Regions from separate parts of the Homo sapiens genome. Here regions 1 and 2 are each linked to region 3. The links are contacts of gene promoters, found by promoter capture Hi-C in blood cells and fetal thymus (Javierre and others, 2016). All regions are on one chromosome and are shown on one strand. The core of a region is centred on a gene start or on the middle of the fragment in contact, and the rest is flanking DNA. Distances in the headings are between cores, read along the strand shown.

The links. The method cuts DNA at HindIII sites, captures the fragments that hold promoters and counts their contacts. A CHiCAGO score of 5 or more calls a contact.
Region 1: the fragment with the promoter of FASTKD1 here is called in contact with the fragment with the promoter of NDUFS1 in region 3 in 2 of 17 cell types (total CD8 T cells and total CD4 T cells); the score reaches 6.8 in total CD8 T cells.
Region 2: a contact is called between a fragment that was not itself captured here and the fragment with the promoter of NDUFS1 in region 3, in 1 of 17 cell types (naive CD8 T cells). The highest score is 10.4, in naive CD8 T cells.

What each region holds. Positions count from the first base shown.
Region 1 is chr2:169,570,477-169,575,157 of GRCh38, forward strand. It overlaps FASTKD1 (FAST kinase domains 1), which reads right to left and starts at 3,389. Exons shown (of 15, transcript NM_024622.6): 1 at 3,193-3,389; 2 at 1,177-1,695. The coding sequence starts at 1,553. RefSeq lists enhancers at 2,971-3,140, 2,996-3,598, 3,501-3,600. The HindIII fragment of the contact is 12,279 bases long and covers 1,321-4,681 here.
Region 2 is chr2:151,825,016-151,829,987 of GRCh38, forward strand. ARL5A (ARF like GTPase 5A) reads right to left here and starts at 3,406. Exons shown (of 6, transcript NM_012097.4): 1 at 3,116-3,406. The coding sequence starts at 3,161. RefSeq lists silencers at 3,022-3,071, 3,122-3,631 and an enhancer at 3,682-3,731. The HindIII fragment of the contact is 507 bases long and covers 1,983-2,489 here.
Region 3 is chr2:206,158,193-206,162,978 of GRCh38, forward strand. It overlaps NDUFS1 (NADH:ubiquinone oxidoreductase core subunit S1), which reads right to left and starts at 1,252. Exons shown (of 19, transcript NM_005006.7): 1 at 1,149-1,252. EEF1B2 (eukaryotic translation elongation factor 1 beta 2) reads left to right here and starts at 1,703. Exons shown (of 6, transcript NM_001959.4): 1 at 1,703-1,867; 2 at 2,396-2,518; 3 at 3,154-3,280; 4 at 3,846-3,912; 5 at 4,297-4,422; 6 at 4,537-4,736. The coding sequence starts at 1,788. The coding sequence ends at 4,691. It overlaps SNORD51 (small nucleolar RNA, C/D box 51), which reads left to right and starts at 3,689; the gene lies at 3,689-3,758. It overlaps SNORA41 (small nucleolar RNA, H/ACA box 41), which reads left to right and starts at 4,036; the gene lies at 4,036-4,167. RefSeq lists enhancers at 930-1,339, 1,450-1,709 and a silencer at 1,970-2,039. The HindIII fragment of the contact is 3,079 bases long and covers 93-3,171 here.

The DNA.
Region 1 (4,681 bases), core at 2,139-4,638, about 37 Mb before region 3:
TAACATTGTTATCAAATATAAATGAATCTACAAAATCATTTTATTTCTTTTTCCTTTTAAGGGCTATTATTGAGAAACAACCTATTGTACCAATACCCCCTAGAAAACATATGTGCCGTCCATTTAATTACAATAACGAGATTGCAAACAAGTTATCACAGACAAAATTTACTAATTGCTGATTGTTATTAGGCATTACTTTTTTTTTTTTTTTTTGGAGACAGCGTCTCACTCTGTCGCCCAGAATGGAGTAGAGTAGCATGATCTGTGCTCACTGCAACCTCTACCACGTGAATTCAAGAGATTCTCCTGCCTCAGCCTCCAGAGTAGCTGGGATTCCAGGTGCCTGCCATCACGCCCAGCTAATTTTTGTATTTTTAGTAGAGGCAGGGTTTCACCATGTTGGCCAGGCTGGTCTTGAACTCCTGACCTCAGGTGATCCACCCACCTCAGCCTCCCAAAGTGCTGGGATTACAAGTGTGAGTCACCACACCCGACTGGCATTAATCTTAAATCTAACTGCTTACCTACTATATCCTCATCTGCAGCCAACCACATTTTCACAAAACTCCACAATAATCCAATTTCAAATGCCCACAGTTAACAATAGTATTACAGTTGTTAAAGGAGAATTGCTTGAACCTGGGAGGCGGAGGTTGCAGTGAGCCAAGATTGTGCCACTGTACTCCAGCCTGGTGACAGAGCAAGACTCCGCCTCAAAACAAAACAAAACAAAACAAAAAAATTAGATTATCAGGAAAACTACTGGTGAAAAAAATTATTTTTCATTTTGAAGAGATTTTTAGACCTGGCACAGTGGCTCACGCCTGTAATCCCAGCATTTTGGGAGGCCGAGGCATGCGGATCACAAGGTCAGGAGATCAAGACCATCCTGGCTAACATGGTGAAACCCCGTCTCTACTAAAAATACAAAAAAATTAGCCGGGCGTGGTGGCAGGCGCCTGTAGTCCCATTGACTCGGAAGGCTGAGGCAGGAGAATGGCGTGAACCTGGGAGGCAGAGCTTGCAGTGAGCCGAGATCATGCCACTGCACTCCAGCCTGGGCGACAGAGACTCCTCAAAAATAAATAAATAAAATGAAAATAAAGAGATTTTTAGAAAATTAAAATGTAAACTATATAATCATTCCATAAAATATAAAAGTAAATTACTTACTGTTGTGTGACGTATAACACATTCACCAGGGTATCGTCATTCATTAATTTGAATTTATTTGTAGCTAAATTATGAAGAGTAAGAAATTGAGGATGGTCTCTGACATACTCAGCATTTTTTAACAGGCTGGTCTTCTGCTTTTGAAGCTTCCAAAGCATATCAAATGCACATCCCACTTGCTTTTCTGAAAGTATGGCTTTGTTTCTTTCAATAAAACCAAACATTTGCTCCTCATCTGTACACTTATTCATCTGAATAATTAGTGGTTCACAACTGATGGGTCGAAATTGAAACACTCTCCAGGAGAATGGACAAATAGCTCTTAGACGAAGCATATTTGTAACCAATGACTCTAGGAAAACAGGTGTTTTTTTCATTTATATCACAAGTTTTCTTAGGTAAACAAAACCATCTGCAACTAGTCGTCAGGTGCAATAAGCAGGGATACAAATAACAGTTTTTCCTTCATGTATTTTGCTTCCATTACAATGACTGTAAACGCATTCCAATGTACAGCTTCTATAAAAGAATTGGTTTAACATGGTTATGCTTACATCATTAATATCAAAATGATTCCAAAATTCAAATTAAAGTAATACATTTTTTCTGCATTAACTAAAGACTTTTTCTTAGTCTAAACCAGATAGCAGAATTTGATCAAAAAATAAATGTCCAGAAAAAGGGGCTTCTTTCTGCACCCCATTTTAAAAGTGTTTTAAATCTGACATTTACATAAAGTTTTCAAATTTACCATAAAAGGAAAAAAAAAGCCCACAAACTCAGAGCTGTCTTTTCGAAAAAGAGGAAAATTGTTTAAAATAAATAATCACCTTCAAAGTTTCTAAAAAGTGTAGGCATTAATTCAGAGCCATATATATTTATACATACATATATATATACTTTTTTTTTTTAATTTTTCAGAAGTATGGTCTCAGGTTTATTTGCTTTCAGGATAATTTCTTGCCCCTTTTTCTTGTGCCCTTAAAGAGCTCAAATAATTCCTTTCTTTAGAAAATAAATAAATAAAAGAAGTCATATAATTTAATCATTACTGGCCTTGGATAGGTTTTAACCAATGAACGACACAATTAAAGCACCAATCAAGAAATACTAAGAAATTAAGTAATGTTTCAAGTCATGCTGAAACAATAAAAGAACTAAAGATAATTATGAAAAAAGAATAATTTGTTTTAAAAATATGCTATAAATGTTTACATTTATAATTGAGAAGTAATGGTTAGAAAAGCAGGGACTAAAGTCATATAATCTAATATTTCTGCAACATGTTACCATTTACAAAGAACGTTTGAAACACATTATCTCATTAAATTCTCTCAGCTAACCTTCCAGGTTGATATTATTTCCATTTTACAGATAAGGCAAAATAGGTTCAAAAAGGTTTAAAAAATCCTTCTAGTACTAGTGAAGCAGGGACTACAACTCAGTTCTTTCCACTTGAACAGCTTCATTACACAAACAAATCAACGCTGTATCACTAAATTCATGTCTCAGACCCCTCTCTACGGCTATGCCAAACAGTCTGTTCACAAGAAAAAACGACGCGACAGTACAGGCTATTTTGTGGCAAGCAGTACAGCATCCTGACCTAAGCTGACCTGGGTCACAAACCTGCACAAGAAAACCCTGCACAAATCAAAGGTATCCTCAAGATACTATATTCATCCACTGAGCTGCTCAAAGTGGAGGCAGCTCAATGGTTAGCATAGAAAGGTGTCGAGTCCCCAGCTTTGCCCCAGCTGAATGACCTTAAGGAAGGAACTTAACTACAGGAAGGGCCTTGGGACCCTAAGGGGTATCTTCTGCGCCGGGCATAAAGGAGAGCTAAACAAATGAGTGAATGAATGGGGTCTCAGCCCTGCCCTAGTCCATCCGCACTTCAGAGAACCCAATATCCCGAAGGAAGCCTCCGTATCTCAACTGAACCCTATGTCCCCAGCCCGAAAACGTGCTGGGTGGGAAAAGAAAAATAGCCGCTGCCACACAGTCCCGACTTGCCAGCAAGGTTTTCCCTCAGCGCGCCGCAAATTTTCTGGAGGATCCTGGGGTTATGAAAGCTCAGAAGTCAGGGTTATTCCTGGTCCCAACACGGAACGAAACAGGCTCGGATGTCTCGCCCAACCCTCATATCTCAGGGTTTATAACCTTTCTTCGAGAGACATGACCTTTCCCATGAGACCTTGCCCCCAAACCAGGAAAAAATGCCCGGCAGGCGCAGCGTGCACTGCGGAAGTCACGCACTACATATCCCAGGGTGGGTCGCGGCGAGGTGGGTGAAATGGACGTCGCTCACGCATTTTGGGGGAATTCTGGGCATTGTAGTTCCTCATTGAGGGAGGCTCTAGCGCAGTACACAGCTTAAGCTGTTGAAGAAGATATAGGTCGTTTAGGTGATTCTCTACTATCTAAGGTTGTTCTCCTAGTCCTTGGAAGTCTACTACTTTTATAATATACACAAAAATATACTTAGGAAAATGAAATTTAAAAATGTAAACATGGAAAAGACACGTACAGATTTTTCTTATTATTTTTTAGCATATACGAAATAACTCTGTCGAGTAACTTTGAAAGTATGCAAACTCATACTCTCAGTTTCTGCACTTATGTCGTGGATAGGTACCAGTTCTCAGACCATATTTTTTTTTTACTTACCATGGTATTTTAATAGTCCCAAGATTTGACACTTGACACTTAAAAAAAAAATACCACTAATAAATAACCAAAGTGGAATGCTTACCAAAGTTACAACAGACATAATTTTCAGCTGATAATCACTACAACAAAGTAAGGCTCTAAAGGTACCAAACTGATATTTGTTGGAATATGCTGTGCAACTTTCTTTTTTTTATTTTATTTATTTATTTTTTTTATTGATCATTCTTGGGTGTTTCTCGCAGAGGGGGATTTGGCAGGGTCGTAGGACAATAGTGGAGGGAAGGTCAGCAGATAAACAAGTGAACAAAGGTCTCTGGTTTTCCTAGGCAGAGGACCCTGCGGCCTTCTGCAGTGTTTGTGTCCCTGAGTACTTGAGATTAGGGAGTGGTGATGACTCTTAAGGAGCATGCTGCCTTCAACCATCTGTTTAACAAAGCACATCTTGCACCGCCCTTAATCCATTTAACCCTGAGTGGACACAGCACATGTTTCAGAGAGCACAGGGTTGGGGGTAAGGTCATAGATCAACAGGATAAGAATTTTTCTTAGTACAGAACAAAATGAAAAGTCTCCCATGTCTACTTCTTTCTACACAGACACAGCAACTTTCCGATTTCTCAATCTTTTCCCCACCTTTCCCCCTTTTCTATTCCATAAAACCGCCATTGTCATCATGGCCCGTTCTCAATGAGCTGTTGGGTACACCTCCCAGACGGGGTGGTGGCCGGGCAGAGGGGCTCCTCACTTCCCAGTAGGGGTGGCCGGGCAGAGGCGCCCCTCACCTCCCGGACAGGGCGGCTGGCGGGGCGGGGGGCTGACCCCCCCACCTCCC
Region 2 (4,972 bases), core at 986-3,485, about 54 Mb before region 3:
GTTAACCACTATTATTTTACTTGTAGAGACAAAGTGAGTTAATTTCCTGTCTCCCAACACTACATGAAAGCTCCATAAAGGCAGTGGAATTTGTCTGTTTTGTTCCCTTATCCCACCATGTAGAACACTTCCTGGACTAAATAGGTGTTAAAATATTTGTTTATTGAGAACAAGTAAACCACTGATCACAAGCTCTTCTATAAAAAAAAGTTACTAATGGCAACTTTTCGAAGTTCTAAAGACAACTTAGAGATTAGCAACTGAAAAAGTTAATGGGGGGAGGAGGAGGGAGGGAAAAATGATGTCAATCTCTTCTTTAAGAGATTCCTTCAGGGTTTTAACTTGCCTGGCTCTGGCATATACCAGTTGCATGGCCTGGGGAAAAAAAATCATTCCACTTAAGCCTCAGTTTTCCCTTTTCAGGGGAAATAACTACTTCAAAAGATTGTTAAAACATAAAATAAAATAAAATAAAATGATTTAAATGACAGCATCTAGGATAAAGTTTGTACTCTACTGAATCTCAGTATCAACTAAATGTGACCTCTGGTTTTTCTAGTTCGAGCGGTATACAAATAGCTTTCACTGTGCACTCAATCTGAGCTTTAACTGAAAAAGCTGTTCTCGAGGGGTTTCAGAAACAGGAGATACTGCATAGTTTAAGTTTCATCAGATGGCAAATTCTGTAATCTCCCGAAACATACTTTCCAAGAGTTTCTATGAAAAGAAAGTAAGATTGCATTCTGAATCCACTGAAGGTAAAACAAGAGCATCCAACACATATCTAACTTATATATGTCCTATACAGAAAAAAAAAAAAACAACCCTGCTGGGCACCATGGCTCAGGCCTGTAATCCCAGCACTTTGGGAGCCCAAGGCGGGTGGATCACGAAGTCAAGAGATGGTGACCATTCTGGCCAACGTGGTGAAACCCCATCTCTACAAAAAATACAAAAATTAGCTGGGTGTGGTGGCACGCACCTGTAGTCCAGCCACTCGGGAGGCTGAGGCAGGAGAATCGCTTGAACCCAGGAGGCACAGGTTGCAGTGGGCCAAGATCACACCACTGCACTCCAGCCTGGTGACAGAGCAAGACTCCATCTCAAAAAAACAAAAACAAAAACAAAACCCAACAAATATCTGGCATTAGATTAAATGGTGGATATTCGGAAAAGTGACCCTATTGATAAGACAGCCACACTGTTTAGCAGAAAATAAATAATTTATTCACACTTTCACAATATTCATATCTAATTTTCTAGAACTTAACTTCATTAATTTCTCTATTAATTTCCGCCAAACTGCCATAAATGTCCCGTCAAAAATTACCACAAAATACAGGTTATAAAAACACTACTATTAGCAATTTGTAGTGATACCAGAGCACACACCCTTATTATTTACTACTCCAAGGAGCTGTTGGCAAAGTTCTCATTTATTCTTAACTTACAGAAACAAATAATTTTATCATTGACTCAAAATAGAAAGTGGTGATAACTCTTTTTCTGGCAGCACTAGAGCTCAATTCACAGTCTTGCTAAACCTCACAGCAGATGAAACACTAGCTTTGCTAAAAATAATACAAAATGATGGATGTTAAAACTAGAATAGATCTTATCTACTATAAGTACCATCAGTCTTACAGCAATGTACGTTTTAATATTTGCAATGTAGAAATAAAGTTTACAAGATTTGGAAGCTCCACAGATCCCTGGTGTTCTAGGTGAGAAAACCTAGACCAGAAAACCTGAGAGTTCAAGTGACTGCTTCCCACTCTCCTGCTCCCAACACTAACAGCCAGTCCAGTCAGAGACAGTGCTGATTAGAACTGATTTTCTCTACTTTATGAAAAATCCTCTTATCAGAAAAATTGATACTGCCCTTTCTTTCGGTATCACGTGACCTACACATCTGTGTGTGTGTGTGTGTGCGTAAAAGATACATTAGGGATCACAAGTTCTAGTTCTGCTTGCTTCCCCTAAGCTTCTTAAAAGAGCAGCTAGATCATGAAGGAGGAGGTGGTAGTAGTAGGTGTACATAATAGATGCCACCATTCACGTAAGTCTTTATTGGAAAACTGGGACGTGACACCATCAGCTTACACAACAGAAAAACACAAACTAAGTTCCTGACAGCGGAATGATGAACCACCCAACTTGAGTTAAAAAGAAACAAAAGTACACCACTGTATCTTAATAAGTATCCAGTCTTTGGGTTAAAATTGTATTCTCTTTCCCCAGTTTTAGTCATTTTGTAACAAATTTTAACAAGCCTGATAGGTATTTCATGGCCATGTCTGAAGTTGGCTGAACTTAAGCATCCCTATATAACACACTTTACACTTAGTAACTTGCTAGTTACCTATGGTTAACAAATGTTTCATATGGTATGTTTTTAAAACTTTCAGTGAAACACTTTAACATTTTTAACCCAGCAAAACAAACAAAAACTGTGTCTAATAACCCACACGAGTAGAAAAATGACCTTAAGCTTAACCTTAAACACAGATATAATAAGTAAAACAAATGGAGAGAAGTCCATCTCTATTCAGGAGGCAGAAGAACCCCCCCTGCCCCCAACACACACAAAGACGGGTGGCAGTGGAGGGCAGGCTCATAAACCAGAGGTGTAATGGACAAGTCGAGCGATTCCTCCCGTTTTCCGCATTCTGCAACCCTCGGTCGCTCAGTGGTGCGGTTAGGGCAGCAATCTATAACCTTCATTCCAGAAGACCCCAGCACTTCTATGTGGTGTCCAAACACAACTGGTGAGCAAAGAAAGGGCTGAAAGACAGGCCAGGCCGTGCTACTCAGGGACGTCGGACCTAGGGCAAGAAACCTTTACCACTCTCATTCGAAATCGGAGCAATGGGTCTATTACGGAAAAGACTTCTTAGGAAGGTCTCCTAAGACAAAGGGCTGCGAGTCAGGAACCATCCCCAAGCTCGGGAGCCGGGACCGAACCGTCCCGGGCCCGTATCCGCGCAGCCTGCACCCCGCGCTGAGCTGGCGCCCGACCGAGCCGCCCACATTCCGAAGTATTCGGAGACCCCCACCTAGCCGGCCCGAGCTGACCCTCTCCCCAACCCGTACGCCCGCGGACCGAGCTCCTCACCCTGGTGATTGAACAGTCTCCATATTCTAGTGAAGAGAATTCCCATTCTCGGGCAGCGGACCCCCCCCCTCCAGACACCCGGGCCGCCTGGCTTCCCCCGGCTCAGGCTGAGGGGGAGGAGAGAGACGCGCTGGAGCCTCCGCCTCTGCTGCTGCTCCCGCGCTGGTCGCGGGCCCGCTTCCAGGGAACCGGAGGGAGGCCGAAGCCCAGGCCGCCCTGCCGCGCGCAAGGCCCCGCCGCTGCCGCCGCGGCACTCGCCTGGCTCGCGGACATCGCCGCCGCGTTGTCTGCGACGAGCCTCGCGGGCCACCGTCCTCCCCCAGCTCCTCTCGGGCGGCTGCGGTGGCGACGACCACGCGGGCGGGGGAAGTGAAGGGGCGGGCCTGGAGGGACGTGAGTGCGCAGGCGCGCGGCCAGAGGGGCGGAGCGTAGGAAAGGGCGCCCGCCCTGTCCTCGCTTATTTGCATAACCAAGACTGCGGAAGGCGCAGGACTTTACCCTGGGACTGAGGCTGTGAAGACCGCAAGTTGGGGCAGATGGCTTCCGACTGCTTGCTGTTGCGTCCCCGAGTATTTATATTTCCCTCGAATCTTCTCCACTGCGCCATAATGTAAACATATAATTGAGTACCCCATGTCCATCCCCAACCCTTCACATACACTACACTTAAAGTTCCACGTCATGACTCTTTAAGACATTGTGTCCCCTGTGGGTCTTTGAGGGAAAAGTCTGCTGCCCTCTGACACTCAGCTGAAGTCAGTGGCCTTACCTAGATAGTCACCTTAAAGCCATTTTTGCACTTCAGGGCTCTTTTCTCTCCAATCTCTTAACTCTCACGTCAGTATTGCCCAAAACAACGATTTTGATCAAGTCACTACCCTGTTTAAAAACCTTTAGTGGCCACCAAAGCTCCATCCCTTTCTGTTCTCGTTAACCTTAGTAAAAAGGAAAATAAAGAAAAATTGGGAGACTTGTAGGAGCCATTTGAACTGCTTTGCACTCCCATCCCCAACAGCTGAATGAAATTAAGCAAAATCAGCAATAAACCGCACCTTCCCAACTCACTTCTCCTAACTACCCAGTATTTTACCTCAAAATATAGAAAAGTAATTTCGTTGACTTCTTTTGGGGCTTTATGGTTAAAAAGCCAAAGTTTAGAGGAGCCATACATGAAGGGAAGGAAAATCATAGTAATCCATATTAATTTATGTATTATCATGTCTGGATTTACTTAATATTCTGTACACTGTTTAGAAGAACAATGTAGTTTGTATAACCAATTTGCATTAACTCTGTAATATTTCCATTCTCGCACACCGTAGGTAATGCTTTGGTAGCTCTAAGACTTTTTCAGACTCCCACACAGATGTCAACTTATGAAATGGATGTCATATACACATTATGTGATGGCGGAGCTTCATATTTTACAATCTACCCAAGGAAATGGTCTCCCAGGTTATTTTCCGAGTGAAGAAAGAAGAGAGAGAGAGAGACAGAGACAGAGAGTTTAAAGACCAATTTATCTATGATTACAGAGAAATGCAAAATGTCATTGGAGAGACTTCTGACTTCAGGCATGAGAGAGTAGGATGGTTTGAATATATCCTCCTACCATTAGCAAATAGAAAACTGCACAAAGTACAGGCAACGACATTTCAGATATTGAAAAACACATCACAGTACTGTGATTCTTTGCAAAAGAGAAAGGAACAGGTGGAGTCTTACCATTTCCTGGACTTTATCCCTAAAAGCAATTCCCAGTCAACTACGGAGGAAGTGGGAACCCAAATGAGAATCTGGAAACCTCTTAGAACTGAAGACGCATATCAGCATTCCCAGAGATCAAGGTGACTAGAA
Region 3 (4,786 bases), core at 2-2,501:
GCCTCGTGATCCGCCCGCCTCGGCCTCCCAAAGTGGTGGGATTACAGGAGTGAGCCACCGCCTCCGGCCTTCAATAGCTTAACAGGTCACCAAGCTTCCACACTATTCCCACACAGCCTCTCCCCTCTTGCCACCGGCTGTGACCTCAGACTGAAATGCTCTTCCCTGGCCCCTCCTTATCCTTCAAATCTTGGCTTAAAAGCCTTTTCTCAGTTTCATTGACCAGGCTATCTAACATTTACGATTCCCCCAGCATATCATCCATTTTATTCTTCTTTACGGACTCATTTCTGGCTCGTAGTAAATGTTCAATAACGGTTAAGTGAACTGAATCTCTAATTTCTGGTCGTTAATTTGTAGAGACCACTTTCCCGGATTTAAAAAGTGCAGGTGCTCTGGCAGCCTTAAGTCGGTGAAAACAAGAATATTCCGCAAAACAAAAATAACTTGTTTATTCATCAAAAACAGTTAACGTTACACTTCTATACCGTCAATTCGTGTGTGAACAGAGTTGTGTCTGATCCAAGACCTTACAGTTCAAGCACTGGATCCCAATAACCTGTAAACAACGTTTTGTTATTTGCAATGCAATCCTGGGCTAACTTTTCAAAAGTCGTTTTTCTCAATTTCCCGTTAGTTAAAGGAATAAAAAAATGCTGTCCAACGTGGTCAATGGACCAAACAAACAAGGACAACAAACAGAAGCGTGAGCCATTGCTAACACAACAGCGACCAAACAATCATGCACTGTATCAGGCGTGTAAAAATCTGGGGGGAAAGGCTTAGTCTTAAGGCCTAAGTCATCGGACACTGGTCCTCTCCCGGGGAATAAAACGGCCTCCTCCTCTGAGAGGGAAATGTCCTGAATTTTCCCTGCAGAGGGAAGGTCACCTGCAAGCCTACATTCGTGACAGCGTTCCCGAGGACCCCCTGATCCTCATCTTCTTTTCTGCTTCATCAGACCAGAGACCGTGGCTAAAAGCCCCCCATCTGCCGGCTCTCAGGGGCTTCCGAGGCGGCGGGGCGGGAGGCGGCGCCCAGTCAAGGACAACAGAAGACTACGTCGCGTGGGCCAAAGGAAACAGTCCCGTCAATAAATAAGCCTCTGGCCGACGCACCTCACCCTTCCCATCCATACAAGACCTCACCTTCTCCCCGGAGCCGCGGAGGCTGTTCTGCTAAACTGTCTGGACCACGACGACCCCCTAGGAGGCCGGGTCGCTTATTCAATATGGCGGCCTCGGCTAACTCTGTCAGCCGGGCCTGGAGAACGGAAAGCCCGGAGGGACTAGAATCCTTGCATTCGACAAGTTTGTCGGCAATTTCCGTCAGCCGACCAGAGGGCGGAGCTGAGGTCGGCCCAGCCCGGAGGCGGGAAGGACAACTTGGACCCGCAGTTCCGCCGGAAGTGGCCCCAGCCTCGAGGCCGGGCGTCTTCGGTCATCTCCGGCGCTTCTAGGGCTGGTTCCCGTCATCTTCGGGAGCCGTGGAGGTACGAACTTAAGACATGCCTATTTTATTAATTTACTTCCAAACGCAACGAAAGGTCCATGGACAATTTGTGGGCCATTTAATTCAGGGCCCCCAATTCGTACGTGGAGAAGTGGGAATGCAAAAGTACTTTGACCTTTAACCTTCGGTCCGGCGCGGTGGAGGGAAACGCCTCCGTCTCTATATAAGGAATTTTCCGGTCTCTTCGGGTCCTTTTTCCTCTCTTCAGCGTGGGGCGCCCACAATTTGCGCGCTCTCTTTCTGCTGCTCCCCAGCTCTCGGATACAGCCGACACCATGGGTTTCGGAGACCTGAAAAGCCCTGCCGGCCTCCAGGTGCTCAACGATTACCTGGCGGACAAGAGCTACATCGAGGGGTGAGCGGACGGGCTGAGTCGGGGTGGCGGGGAGGTTTCTCCGCCCGGGGCCGGGGCCACGTGGCGCAGCGTGTCGGCTGCCGCGGGAGGGAGGGAGGCCGGGCCCGGGGCCCTTTCGAGAGGGAGGGGAAAGCGCCCCGTTGCCGTCTCCCAAGGCCCTCGTGTGGGGCGAGCCCGGCCTCCGGGGAGCGGTTCACGAGCAAGGAAAGGTTAAAATGTGCTTTATTTACACTTAATTCAGCCAGGTGTTTCCGCATCGCTGCCCAGTTAATACATGTTAAGCTGTAGATAGAGCAACGCCAGACATTGCAGTATTTGAGGTCTACTTAGTGGCAGACATTTCTCAGGATAGCGCGGTGACCCAAACATATGGTTTGATTTGAAGGAGCTAATAAGAAAAGAAAAGCATTAAAGCAACCCTGCTGGGGTTAGTGCCCACTAATTAATGTGATGCATACGGTATTTATTATTTATTCGCTGGCGTTTGTTTTTCAAAGGTGTGTGTGAATGTTTCTGTGTCCTTGGCAGGTATGTGCCATCACAAGCAGATGTGGCAGTATTTGAAGCCGTGTCCAGCCCACCGCCTGCCGACTTGTGTCATGCCCTACGTTGGTATAATCACATCAAGTCTTACGAAAAGGAAAAGGCCAGGTAAAATCATCTTTGTATAGAGCTGAAGAATAAGACTGCTCTCGAAGTTTATCAGGATGTTCACATGACAAAACTGGACCCAGGCTACTTTAGTTTTGTTGGGATATTGTAAGCTAAATTTTTCTGTAACCTTAGAAGGCCAAGAGACTGAAGCCCTCCATTTTTTCACAGAACAGGTAGAACATGGACAGCAGCAATTCAACTTTTCCCCACACTGCCCTGCCAATGTGCCTCGACCTTGACCTGGGGGGCCCACCTCTGGGGTGAGAGGGTGGCTCATTCATTCAGTCCTTGGCCATTCTTCTGAAACTGCCAACAAGGGTGGAAGTTTGGGGAAGTGGACTCCAGTTCACTAAGAATGGAACTGAGCATACTTAATGAAATCTCAAACAGAAATGTTCATACTGAAAGAGTAAATCATAGTGAGTATTGAAAATAATGTCTCACATGGTACTAATGCTTGTCGGGTGAGGAGTTGAACATATGACAGTGTTTACCTGGGCGCATGTGAAAGGGTAAATTATGATTGCAAAAGGGATCTAGTGATAAGTAGTGATTAAAACAAGTTATTTTGTATTTTCTGGAAAAGGATGTTATACTAGCTCAATAGTGGTTGAATTTAAATGTTTTTCAAGCCTGCCAGGAGTGAAGAAAGCTTTGGGCAAATATGGTCCTGCCGATGTGGAAGACACTACAGGAAGTGGAGCTACAGATAGTAAAGATGATGATGACATTGACCTCTTTGGATCTGATGATGAGGAGGTATGGCGTCTTCTATAAAGAACATATCGGCCAGGCGCAGTGGCTCATGCCTGTAATCCCAGCATGTTGGGAGGCTGAGGCGGGTGGATCACGAGGTCAGGAGTTGAAGACCAGCCTGGCCAAGATGGTGAAACCCTGTCTGTACTAAAAATACAAAAAAATGTGGCAGGCATCTGTAATCCCAGCTACTCAGGCGGCTAAGGCAGAGAATTGCTTGAACCTAGGAAGCGGAGGTTGCAGTGAGCCAAGATCGTGCCACTGCATCCAGCCTGGGCGACAGAGCGAGACTCCGTCCCAAAAAAAAAAAAAAAGAATACATCGATCAGCAATTGTATCAATGTGGTTAAGCCAAATTGCCTGGATTTGAATCCTGGCTTTAATTTATATGCCTTTTTCAAATTCTGACTGGTTGCATGATGAATAAAATCAAATCACCATCTTTCGGCTGAGTTCGTGATGGATTTGCTTTTTTCTGATTAAGCCAGTCTTTTTTGTGATGACCCCACTAGCTTTAAGCAGAGGAACAACCAGCTTTCTGAAGTGGATTAATTTTTTTTCTTTACAGGAAAGTGAAGAAGCAAAGAGGCTAAGGGAAGAACGTCTTGCACAATATGAATCAAAGAAAGCCAAAAGTAGGTCATTTGTTTTTAACTTCATTTCATGTTAATGTAAGTAATCTTTTTCAAAGCTTGACCTTGAAGTAATTTCCTCCACATTCCTTGAATAGGTCAATATTTTAAAACCTGTACAGGTTCTTCCACAGCTACTGGTCTGCAGCTGTTCTTATGGTAGCAGTTGTGGCATTCCTCTGTGGGAAAGAAACTGTTAACACAAACACCTCTTTCTTAGCAAAACAGAAAGTGGGTATATATGTGTGACAGACACAAGATGTATCTGTAGTTTTGTTTGGCTAAGGAGATAGTCTCAAAACAAATTGAGATGGATTTGTTTGTGTCTTGGAGTAGGGTGAAAAAAATACAATTCATTATTTGAATAATGCTGTTTATTGTTTTTAGAACCTGCACTTGTTGCCAAGTCTTCCATCTTACTAGATGTGAAACCTTGGGATGATGAGACAGATATGGCGAAATTAGAGGAGTGCGTCAGAAGCATTCAAGCAGACGGCTTAGTCTGGGGCTCATGTGAGTTTAGGCTTTGCCTTTTTTTTTTTGAAACTAACATCTGGAATTTGCCTACAGTTTCAACCTTTCCTACAAGACTTTTCTAACTAGGATTTTTCTTAATGCTCTTTTTAGCTAAACTAGTTCCAGTGGGATACGGAATTAAGAAACTTCAAATACAGTGTGTAGTTGAAGATGATAAAGTTGGAACAGATATGCTGGAGGAGCAGATCACTGCTTTTGAGGACTATGTGCAGTCCATGGATGTGGCTGCTTTCAACAAGATCTAAAATCCATCCTGGATCATGGCATTTAAATAAAAGATTGAAAGATTACCTTTGGCTCTTGAGTATGTTACATAGGAGGGTGGTGTATATATTCCTTT